3 separate regions of the Homo sapiens genome follow, and regions 1 and 3 are each linked to region 2. Evidence: promoter capture Hi-C in 16 types of primary human blood cells and fetal thymus (Javierre and others, 2016). All regions are on one chromosome and are shown on one strand. Each heading gives the region's core, a stretch centred on a gene start or on the middle of the fragment in contact. The rest is flanking DNA. Distances are from core to core; before and after follow the strand shown.

Region 1 (2,579 bases), core at 1-2,500, 1.7 Mb after region 2:
TTCCTTGTTTTCTTTTTGTCTTCTACTATTATTCCCTTTCAATATGACCCCTCAATTTACTCTTCATATTACAATTTTAATTATCATCCTAGAGTACAAATATCTATTTTCCTGTTTTAATTTCTCAAGATTTTGTCAAGACCTAATTTCAAATTAATGTTAAAGACATTTGCTTAGCGGCTTACCAACAACGCGACAAGACACATTTTACACAGTCTCCTCATACACTCCTTCCCTGCTGAGCCAGCCACCTTTCCCAGTAAAGAAGGTAAAGAAGATATAAAAATGATTCATTCTGCTGTTAGTGTCAGTCTTTTGCTCAACTCCCATTTCCCCCAAGTATTTAGATTTTTTTTTTCTTTAAGAAAATAAATGCCAGCTGGGCATAGTGGCTCATGCCTGTAATCTTAGCACTCTTTGGGAGTCCAAGGTGGGAGGGTCGCTTGAGCCCTGGAGATTGAGGTTGCAGCGAGCTGGGATTATGCCACTGCATTCTAGCCAAACAGACAGAGCGAGATCTTGTCTCAAGATTAAAAAAAAAAAAAAAAAAAAAAAGCCAACCACTTACGTTTACAGAATTAAAATTGCAGCCTGCCGCTGACAACCTGAGAAAAAGAGACAAAGTCAGTGGAATAGCCCTTGTTATTTATGCAAGTCCGCATACAGCTAGCCCTGGAGTTCCTGGAGAGCAAGGAACCTCTGTCCCAAACTTGACTCAGAGCTTCCAAAGTTGGTGTATTTCAACAAGTAAGCATTCCATTGAGCCAACAATTTGGTAGGCTACCAGCGGCTCTGGAGCGCCTGTTGATGATGACAGTTTTTGTGGGGGCATCTCAATATGACACACAATTGACACTGACCAGAAACACAGCGCCAAGGACACTCTAGTCCTAGCCATGAAATGTTATGATTCCAGGTTTTCAGGACAGAGCAGAGTCCACTTCTCATCTCCAGTATCCGTAAAAATTTGTCCAAAATGTAACTAAGAAAACACAATGATATTAGTTACTTCTGCTCCCCGTCACCCTCAACCCCACTGATTACGAGATGGGAACTCACACAAAACTTTGAGACAAAAGAGCAACAAGTTTGCTTTATTGTTTGCTTGTTTTGTTCCGGAGTCGGGGCCGGGAGGGAGTGCAGGAGGAGGGATCCAAGCTTCCAAGCCTCTGCTCCGCTCTCCTTCTATCCAGTTGGTCTTTAGGGCACTGAAGGAAACTCTTCTTCAGAAATAACCTTTTAACTTTTCTTCTGTCAGCTGCCTGCCAATCACGGAGCCAGAGGCTGAGGGGAGGCTTTGAGCCGGTCTGCGAGTCCGGAAGGCAAAGATCGCGAAGCTTGGCGCTCCAGAACGCTCAGGGGGCAGGTGACACAGTCGTGGGTTCCCCGGCGGGCGCTGGCTTGACAGTTTCCTCCCCGCCCACTGGCAGGGGAGCGCCCCGCCGGGCTGCACGCGCGCGCGCGCAGGGGGGCATAAAAGCCGCGGCCGCGCGGAGACGCGGAGCTCGCCCACCGCCCGCCCCAGCAGTGGCTGCACCATGCACGTGAACGGCAAAGTGGCGCTGGTGACCGGCGCGGCTCAGGGCATAGGCAGAGCCTTTGCAGAGGCGCTGCTGCTTAAGGGCGCCAAGGTAAGCCCGGCGCCCAGCCGCGGAAATTTCTCTGCCCACACACTCCGAGACTCGCCCCGCCGCCCGAGGTGCACTGGCGGAGACAGGGAGGCCGCGCCCGGCGTGCCCACTTTGCCACTTCCAAAATTTGCTGAAGCTGAGGCTGTGAGCACACCTCAGAAGTGGCTGGGAGGGAACCCAAACCTAATTGCCAAATTTCAGGTCCAGGAGGGGAGCCTCTTGTGTGTTTATTGTTTGTCCGTCTATTTCGTGAGCTGCGCAGGCCCGCGATTCCTCTCCTCTTGTCTATAGGTAGCGCTGGTGGATTGGAATCTTGAAGCAGGTGTACAGTGTAAAGCTGCCCTGGATGAGCAGTTTGAACCTCAGAAGACTCTGTTCATCCAGTGCGATGTGGCTGACCAGCAACAACTGAGAGGTAAGACAGGGGAATCAATCTGTCAACTGGGAACGTGCTCTCAACAAGCAACAACCTGAAGGCAGCCCGGCCAGGGGGCCCTGGGTGCCGCCTCCGCTGCCTCCTCGAGAGCAGCTACCTTGAAGCTCCAAAAGACAGTTTGGACTGATACGTTTCCTTCTGACAGCCCAATAGCTGTAAAACCGAAAGAAAGGCAAGACTGCTGGAGAAATCCTTTTATTGTAGTCATTTGGCAGCATTAATGTAATCAAAATTCCTTTATGTATTCAAAGACAGTGCTGCTGCAGTAATTATTAAATGATTGAAATTGCAGACAAAACTTGGAAAATTAAAGTAGGTTAAGTAAGGTACTGTTGACAAACAACTTCTCCCAGAAAGCTGGAGTCCAATGACAATCAAATGTGGCAGTGTTTTTCGTTTAAACATATCAGAATACAAGTTCAAGGAGCATCATCACAGAAGTGCTAGATGCTTTTGACCATATGTTTTCTCCGGCTTTTTCCCCAATGAGACAGTACTTTAAAATAATAATA
Region 2 (4,453 bases), core at 643-3,142:
GACAAATGGTTGCATTCTGTTGAGTTTCTGATGAGCCTTTCCAGAGTAGGCAATCAGGTATGCATTTAGCTCAGTGAGCTAAGCGGTGACTTTGAATAGAATAGGAGGCAGGTTTGCCCTAAGCAGTTCCCACTTTGACTTTTCCCTTTAGCTTAGTGATTTGGGGGAGGTGGGGGGGGTCCCAAGATTTAATTTCCTTTCACAGTAGAAATGGCTATTCAAAGCTTTCATCTTAAAAATCAGCTTAAAATACCACCTTCTAAGATCCAAATTAATGGTCATCTCTTTTGAGAGGACTTCTTACACTCTCCCAGGCCAAAGTATTTGCTTCCTTTCTGGTGCTAACATATTTTTACCATGGCAGAGCTTTTCAGTGTATGTAATCTTTTCACTGATATTTCTATCTCTGAATCTCTTATAAATGATCTGCCGCACAGAGCTGTCCAATCGAAATTCCTGTAGTGATGGAACAGTGCTGTGTCTGTCCTACCCAACATGGCAGCCACTAGCTACATATGGCTATTGAGCAGGTAAAATGTAGCCAGTGGAACTGAGTTTATTTAAATTTAAGTTTAAATAGCCACATGTGGCTAGTGGCTACCATATTGGATGGTAAAGATCTAGCACATACTCCAGGATAGTTCCTCAGAAAAGGTTTACAGAATGAATGAATCATTCATTAAAACTTTTTTAGCCTAACAGAAAACACTTACATAGCTTCAGTTTTGGTTTTCTTTTTTAACCACATACAGAATACACTGGTTTACTTTATTAATAAGCATGTATATGAATAAACATTAAAAATATTACATAGTATCATTATCAAGATCTATCCCATATTTTACCATGTGTATGTATCCACAGGGCCTGTCACCTGGCTCTCTGCAGCCTCAAGTTCCTGAGCTCAAGCAATCCTCCCACCTCAGCATCTGGAGTACTTGAGAGTACAGGTGTGCACCACCACACCCAGCTATTTTGTTTGTTTGTTTGTTTTGTAGCGAAAGTCTCTCCACCTTGTGTTGCCCAGGCTGGTCTTGAACTCCTGAGCTCAAACGATCCTCCCGCCTCCACCACCCAAAGTGCTGGGATTACAGGCATGACCCACTGTGCCCTGCCAAGCAAAAAAAAACAAAAAACAAAAAACAAAAAACAAAAAACTGTGGCTGTAAAAATTTTTAATGGATTTTAATAATTAAGCTTACATATTTATAATTGCCTATGCCAACTTTGCAGTTGTTTTCATTGTGTTCAGATAGATCCCAAGTGACTAGATGAATGCGTGGCACATAATATGGACTCAATACATATTTGTTGAATTAATGAAGGAATTATGCCTACTAGGAGATTTTAATTAAGTGTGAAAATCTAACCTACACATCGTTTTCAAATATTAATGTTTACAAATACTTAATGCAATAATTAAGGAAATAGTTATGTTAAATTTTGTGGACATTCATTTCCATTTCAAAGATTTTTTTCCCCCATCTCTTCCAATTCCCAAACAAAAACTGTCCTTGGCCTCTGGAGTCTTCTCACACCACTCCTCAAACTAGACGACTGAAAATAGGCCTTTGGCTGGGCAGAAACCAACAATATTTAAAATACAAAACTTATGAACGATGACATAAGAAAAAAAAAGCTCTAAATAGGTTAACAGTGAGGCCAACTAAATCTGAGACTGAAAGCGCTCCCCAGACCGCAGCCACACCACTGGGACCCCAGCTTTGCCTCCCTCGATACCCGGCCCCGCGGTCCAAAATCTGAGTAAAGCGGAAGTACGGGCGGCTGCTGCGGCGCTTGCGCAGGCGCTGAGGTCTCGCCCCATAAGACTCCGCCCCGCCCCACGAGACCGCGCCGCCAGCAATAAGGCCCAGCCCCGCCTTCTGCTGTTGCCGCAGCAACCCAGAAAGCGTCATGGCTGCCGCCGGCCAGGAAAAAGGGTATTTGACACAGACTGCGGCAGCCCTAGACAAGTCACCGTCACTTTCGCCACAGCTAGCAGCTCCCATCCGAGGGAGGCCTAAGAAGTGTCTGGTCTATCCGCATGCGCCGAAGAGCTCCCGCTTGTCTCGTTCCGTTCTGCGTTGGCTTCAGGGTCTGGATCTCAGCTTCTTCCCCAGGAACATCAACAGGTGCTTGAGTAAGCCAGTCCTAGGCCCCCCCGGTGGGCGCCCCGCCTGCTTTCCGCCGCCTGCCAGGCCTCAGATTGCCTACCCTGGCCTGGCTTATGTTTCAAATCAAGACCCCCCCACCCACGTACACACACGAAAACACTATTAGGGAACAAGGCTTTAACAAAATACCACGATACATCTTGTTTATTCAATTAATCAACCAATCATTAAATTGTGGACAATATAGAATGCTTTGGTGACTACAAAAATATTAAAATAGTCAAAGCTTTTTCTTTAGTGATATTGGGCATTAATACTGGTAAGGACGGCCGGGCACAGTTGCTCATGCCTGTAATCCCAGCATTTTGGGAGCCGAGGCAGGCGGATCACCTGAGGTCAGGAGTTGAGTAACAGCCTGACCAACACGGTGAAACCCCGTCTCTACTAAAAAATACAAAAAATTAGCCCAGTGTGGTGGCGGGTGCCTGTAATCCCAGCTACTGGGGAGGCTGCAGGCAGGAGAATGCTTGAACCCGGGAGGCGGAGGTTGCTGTGAGTCGAGATTATGCCGCTGCACTCCAGCCTAGGTGGCAGGGTAAGACTCTGTCTCAAAAAAAAAAAAAAAAAAAAAAAAAAAAAATACTGGTAAGGATCAGTTTACCCTTTGTCGGAGATGGCATCTAGTTTGAGAGTTACCAACAAGTTTTTAAAGTTGCTGCTTAATTGTAGGCACTTTGTATGTAACTGGCAGCTAATATTTGCTCTGGGAATGCAAACTAAATTCTATAAAAAGGCAATGAATCTTTTGCAGAACTCTGGTTTAAAGTAGTCTCTCCTTATCAGAGAGGCATAGGTTCCAAGATCCCCAGTGGATGGCAACTGTGGATACTACAGAACCCTCTGTCAGAACACATTTCTGTTTATGTCTTCCATCCACAAATTTAATGCCTTTTTAAAAATCTTAACTAAGCACTTATCACACACTGTGGCTGAAAGTTTTTCAGTTTGAGGTGTGATGCCGAAACTATCAAGAATTTCTTTTTCTTCATATTTCAGGAATATGATTCATTCCTACCATTGTAACCATTCTTACAACTTTCTATTAAGTCAAGAACTTTCATCTTTTCACCTAAAGGAATAATTTTATGGTTTCTCTCTGGCATATCTGAATCACCAGCATCACTGCTCTTGCACTTTGCACACAAGCGCACCACACTGTACAGTTGATCTGATGACTAAAAGGTGACTGATGTCTACAACGTGGAGACTCTGGACAAAGGGAGGACTCACATCCTAGGCAACACAGAGCAGGCAGGGAGGTTTCATCAGACTGCCCAGAACAGAGTACAATTTAAAAGTTACAAATTATTTCTTGAATTTTCCATTTAATATTTTCCGACTGTGATTGACCCAAGGTAACTGAAACTGCAGAAAGCAAAACTGCAGATAAGCGGGGGACTAGTTTACTAATTTGTCTTCAGTATTACTTACAACCATGCCTCTGAAATTTTAAAGTGCATATGAATCACCTGGGGATCTTCTTGAAATGCGGATTCAATACAAATTAACAGTTTGGGTTCATCAAAAGAACACCAAAGCCTTTGAAACGTAGATAATCTTAGCAAAATTCCACAGTAGGTTCTCCTTAGAGCAACGATCCAACAACACTCACTTTACAAGATACTTTTAGTATGGAATATTAGACTAGTATTAATTATAAAATAATACAAACTGCATAATTAACTACACTTTATTTCATTTCCTAATTGCCACGGATCAGAGATTTTTCAAATGGCTTCCTAATTGCAGAAATATTCTGTATATATTACCCCTGGGAACTTGAATTATCATCCTTTGAAAACGGGACCTCTTTAAAAGTCAAGTTGGATAACTGGGCACAGTTGGAGAAGGTACGTTAGCAGTCATTTACACTTTTAACTGTTAAGATGTTTGTTTTAAAGTGTGCCATGCTAATTTCCTGGATCTCTACGTGTATGTGTGTGACTGTGTGATACTGAGTTGGCAGCTTGTTCCTGTGTATTACAAAGTTTATTAAATTCCAACTGTTTATGTCATGAGTCACCTATGAAACTGAGCATAATTATTTCCATTAGCATGATATATACTGATTGGTTTTCCTGCTGAATATTATCTTTTAATAACTAACGTGTTAAACACAAAAATTACTTCATAGGTAAATAAAAGGGAGATTAAAGTGAATTCATAGTACTTGGAGATTTTTATAAAAGTTCTTATGATAAAAACATTTTCTTTCTACTATTAAAGTTCCTGGCAAGAAAAAAATTTAAATTACCTAAAGAACTAATCCATGGAACAAT
Region 3 (4,254 bases), core at 329-2,828, 1.1 Mb before region 2:
GAAAGTGTTTCCTGCTATATGCTCTATCAAATGCAGATGAGCCAGGTGGGTGGGAGGCAGAAGTCAAAAATGAAGACTACATTTCTATTGCAGGTGCACAGACCTGCAGCCTCACAAAAAGATCACATTTCTTTGAGAGAGTTATCCATTCCTCTAAGAAGCACAGGTTGGAAGTACATTTTTTGAACTTCTGTTACATTGTGAAAAGAGGGGCAAATGATTTTAGGTTCAGATTCCAACAGCAGATCTGCCATTGACCTTGAATTGTTACATCCAATAGTTGTTATGGCTGCAGGAAACTGAAAGGAAGCAAGCCACTGCATTTTTCCCACCCATATACTGACATAGGTACTCTCCAGGGAGGGCACTAGTTCAATGAGTTTGAAGAAGTGATTGTCCTTGTTTAGAACTTCATGGAACACTTACTGACAGCCGTGTGCTGAGAAATGACTTCCCCCTTATCAGTCTGGTGGAGAGCACTTGATAAAAACCCCCTCTCATCTTACAGAAATAAATCTGTACCTAACACCAGAGAATCAATAACATATCAATGTTTTCAACTATCGTGCATAGATCCCATTGTGTACTACTCTATCCAGAGCTATGAGTTTTCCATCACATCAGTCTACTACAGCAGCAGTGTAACCTGCAATATATCATTACTGCATGAACAACTAGGCATATGCTGATGTTATCAATTCCAGACTAAGCAAAACCATGAAGTGACAATGTTGTCCAAGGACAGCAGCTGCTGACAATGAAAAGAGAACACCTCAAAGGAAAAGCAATTACATAAACCCTGGATTACTCTAAATATGTGGTAGATGAGATGCAATAAAGAACAATCATATAGTATCATCTCTTTGTGACAATTATTCACCTTTGGTTAGCATGGGGTCCAGGAACAGGTCTTTTCTTTTAAGAAAAAGGTGATAACTGTGGTCAGTATCTTTAAACAGCACTAAAAACGATTTGAGGAAGCAGTATCAATTTTTACAGTTGGCAAAAGCTTAGGCTAAACTCAGAAAAGACAGAATGAGATTGGGTAGACATATTAACTCAAAGGCCGCTTTCATTTTCCTGCAAAAATTAAACATGTGATCATGCATCACAATTACATATATTTTGACTTTTTTATCATTAAGTCAACAAAGGAAATAGGTTGCTAGTCCTTCTCTGCCAGTATATTAGCCATGAATTTCCATGGGAACTGTGAAACAATGGAGAACCTGTTATTTCTCTGGAAAGTTTTTACACTCTCTAAGTAAATTTCCAAATTCCATTCAAGGCTTCAGAGAAAGCAGGAAGCCAGAAAAATATTTAAAGATCAAGTGATACATTTAAACCAAACTAGGGCCTGTCACAAATATAAAGTAACCGATGTCACTGAATACAATAAGCATTCGGTAAAAACAAGGAGAGACTTGTGGTATAGGAAGCTTGGGGACTAGCAAAACAGATGTGTTGCTCTAATACATCTTGGGAAGCCCTGTAAAATGACTGTCTTCCAAGTGATGATGACATCAGAATTTATTCTTCTGCTGTTTATTGATTTCCATGATAGAATCACAACCTCTCATATTGGAGCTCTCTTAAAAACACAGTACTTCCTATATGATTAAATGTGACACCCGGCAAACTCCATCTAGCCTTCTACGCATCTTTAAATATAGAGAGATAAGATGTATCGTACAGGCTTATCTTACCGTAAAGCTTTTGGTCCAAAGTACATAAAGAGCTCCTTCCCCAAAGTTTCCACGCCACTGTAAACATATCCATTAAACAGGCTCAAGACATTCTGGCTGGAATCATTATTCAGTGCAGCAGCCTAGTGGAAAATACATGTACACACATAAGCACACACACACACAAACTCTAAGCAAAAGCATTATTTAATTCTTAAATGTGTTTATATTACTTCACGCCCAGGTGCATTCCAATGAGAAGAATAATCTCCAACAAGTCATGTAATGTAATCGGCTGTTTACATACATTTTGTCAAATCACTATGCAGTCATTTAAAGAGAGAGAGGCCAAAAAAATTAAGTGAAAAAAAGTAATTGGTAGACAAGCAAAATAAAGTTTCTTCCAGGACCATATAGCTCTGTGCATATGAAAAGAAAGCATAGGAATACAACACGAATGTTCTAAAACTAAAAACTGGAATATAGGTTCTTCCATTTCCAGAAGTATATAGCCAAGTTCCCTGAAAGAGTGGTCAGATAAAAACAGCTACAAATGACAGATGATAAAATATGAAAACAAAATATTTTTAACTTCACCGATGAACTTTTAAGCTAGTATGAAATAATAAAAGGTCAAAAACTAAAAGCGGGAGAGAACCCTGAGAGGTAGTAGGGAGAGCTGTGAAGCCAGCATCTATCCTAAGGGCATTGATTGAAACTAAGGAATGAGAGCTTCAATTTTCACATGAAACTAAGGAATGAGAGCTTCAATTTTCACATCTTGTGAGGGTGCAGGAGATCAGAGATAAAAACCTGCGGCCCCCTGAGTAGGGGAATCTAATTTGAGACCTGTCCTATTCCAAGCACAATGTTAAGAATAAAGAAAAAATAAACTCATATTCCCTTTCCCCCATCAGCCTTGCAAAACCAAACAATATATTGTTAGAATGACAACATATAGGCAGAATCCTATAAGATATTCGAGGAAATTATAAACATGAATTAAACAGAAAACAAAAATATAAAATGTAGGTTCTTCTGTGGGAGAAGAAAAGAAAGGGCGTTTGGTTTAGATTTTAGTAATGCCCTTTTTCTTAAACTGAGCATTATGTATACTGGTGTTTCTTATGTCATTATTTTTTATTATTTATATATGTTTTATAAACATTATTTAATTTAAACTCAAAATGTAATAAAAATGTAAAACTTAAGACATGCGTAATTATTATATAAGATAAAATAGGGTACACAGAATTACATCTACGCATTAACTCAGTCTAAGGTAATATCCTCATTTACCTCTAACTTCTTTTGTGTTTTTCTCAAATGGGCCTAAGGATCCTCAGAAGATTCTGAACGAAACCTTGGTGGGCAGTGGGAGTGGGGAAATGTCAAGATATAATTATAAAACAGCTTTAGATACAGAGTCTAGAAACAAGTCACAATTTTTCCTCAATTTAGAGTGAAATGATATTGTTCAGTGATTCTCAAACTTTTGATTTTACAGACATTTGTCATTCTAAATGCTTAAGATGACATGTCCACTCTATTCTTTATTTCACTAAATTGGTCTTTGTTAAGATACAATCACAGTACTTAGCTCAAAGAGAGATAACAGGGAGATAAAGAAAAAAAAAAAAAAGAGACAGACACTATTCTTCCACTAAACCCATTCAAGGTTGAAATAGCTACAGTCAATGCCAGAATTTTCCAACTGCCTGAAGTTCAGGCGACTGGCTTTATATATCCCTCCTTTGTTTAAGAACTGGAGAATCAATCACTGGCTTAGAATGACAGATAAATTAAATGCACAGGAGTAATTAAAAATGACAGCAGGCCCGGCGCGGTGGCTCACGCCTGTAATCTCAGCACTTTGGGAGGTCGAGGCGGGCGGATCACGAGGTCAGGAGATCGAGACCACCGTGAAACCCTGTCTCTACTAAAAATACAAAAAAAATTAGCCGGGCATGGTGGCGGGCGCCTGTAGCCCCAGCTACTCGGGAGGCTGAGTCAGGAGAATGGCGTGAACCCTGGAGGTGGAGCTTGCAGTGAGCCGAGATCACGCCACTGCACACCAGCCTGGGAGACACAGCGAGACTCCGTTTCAAAAAAAAAAAAAAAAAAAAAAAAAAAAAGACAGCAGTCACTTCCTGTTCTGCACAAATCACAAAAAAAGAACCTGTTGGAGACTGTAGGTATATGCCACCATGTCCTCAAAGCTCAGTCTTTGGTTGCCCTTTCTGGGATGAACTCTAGTACCTATCAATAATTATCAAGCACTGGGAAGGCAGGCTTGAGTACTCAGTGAGGAAAAAACACATTTGCCTTCTTTTTATATAAGTCAATCTTTTAGAGCCCTGAATTGACAAACACCAAGAATCTTGATGCTTTTCTCCTTAACAGGAGACTTTAAGTCACTTAAATACACTTCAGGCCAAGTATAGATTACAATAGTGGGTTTTAAGGTAGGTTTCCATGACAACCAATTAGTATGTAAAAAGTTCCTATAAACTTGCCAGGACACTTTTAAGATGATGATATACAAAGCAGATATAGATCTTTGTCTCAA

Evidence for each region. Contacts are between HindIII fragments. The CHiCAGO score rates a contact against its expected background, and 5 or more counts as called.
Region 1: a fragment that was not itself captured here is called in contact with the fragment with the promoter of SPATA4 in region 2 in 1 of 17 cell types (fetal thymus); the score reaches 6.1 in fetal thymus.
Region 3: a contact is called between a fragment that was not itself captured here and the fragment with the promoter of SPATA4 in region 2, in 1 of 17 cell types (total CD8 T cells). The highest score is 6.3, in total CD8 T cells.

The regions. Positions count from the first base shown.
Region 1 is chr4:174,521,411-174,523,989 of GRCh38, reverse strand. HPGD (15-hydroxyprostaglandin dehydrogenase) reads left to right here and starts at 1,502. Exons shown (of 7, transcript NM_000860.6): 1 at 1,502-1,631; 2 at 1,923-2,046. The coding sequence starts at 1,539. LOC105377548 (a long non-coding RNA gene) reads right to left here and starts at 1,377. Exons shown (of 7, transcript XR_007058492.1): 1 at 861-1,377; 2 at 569-605. The HindIII fragment of the contact is 179 bases long and covers 1,161-1,339 here.
Region 2 is chr4:176,193,024-176,197,476 of GRCh38, reverse strand. It overlaps SPATA4 (spermatogenesis associated 4), which reads left to right and starts at 1,892. Exons shown (of 6, transcript NM_144644.4): 1 at 1,892-2,132; 2 at 3,895-4,024; 3 at 4,401-4,453. The coding sequence starts at 1,915. The HindIII fragment of the contact is 1,203 bases long and covers 1,200-2,402 here.
Region 3 is chr4:177,320,033-177,324,286 of GRCh38, reverse strand. It overlaps NEIL3 (nei like DNA glycosylase 3), which reads right to left. Exons shown (of 10, transcript NM_018248.3): 2 at 1,707-1,828. Among named protein-coding and RNA genes, the nearest start is that of NEIL3, 12 kb to the right of the region's middle. The HindIII fragment of the contact is 274 bases long and covers 1,442-1,715 here.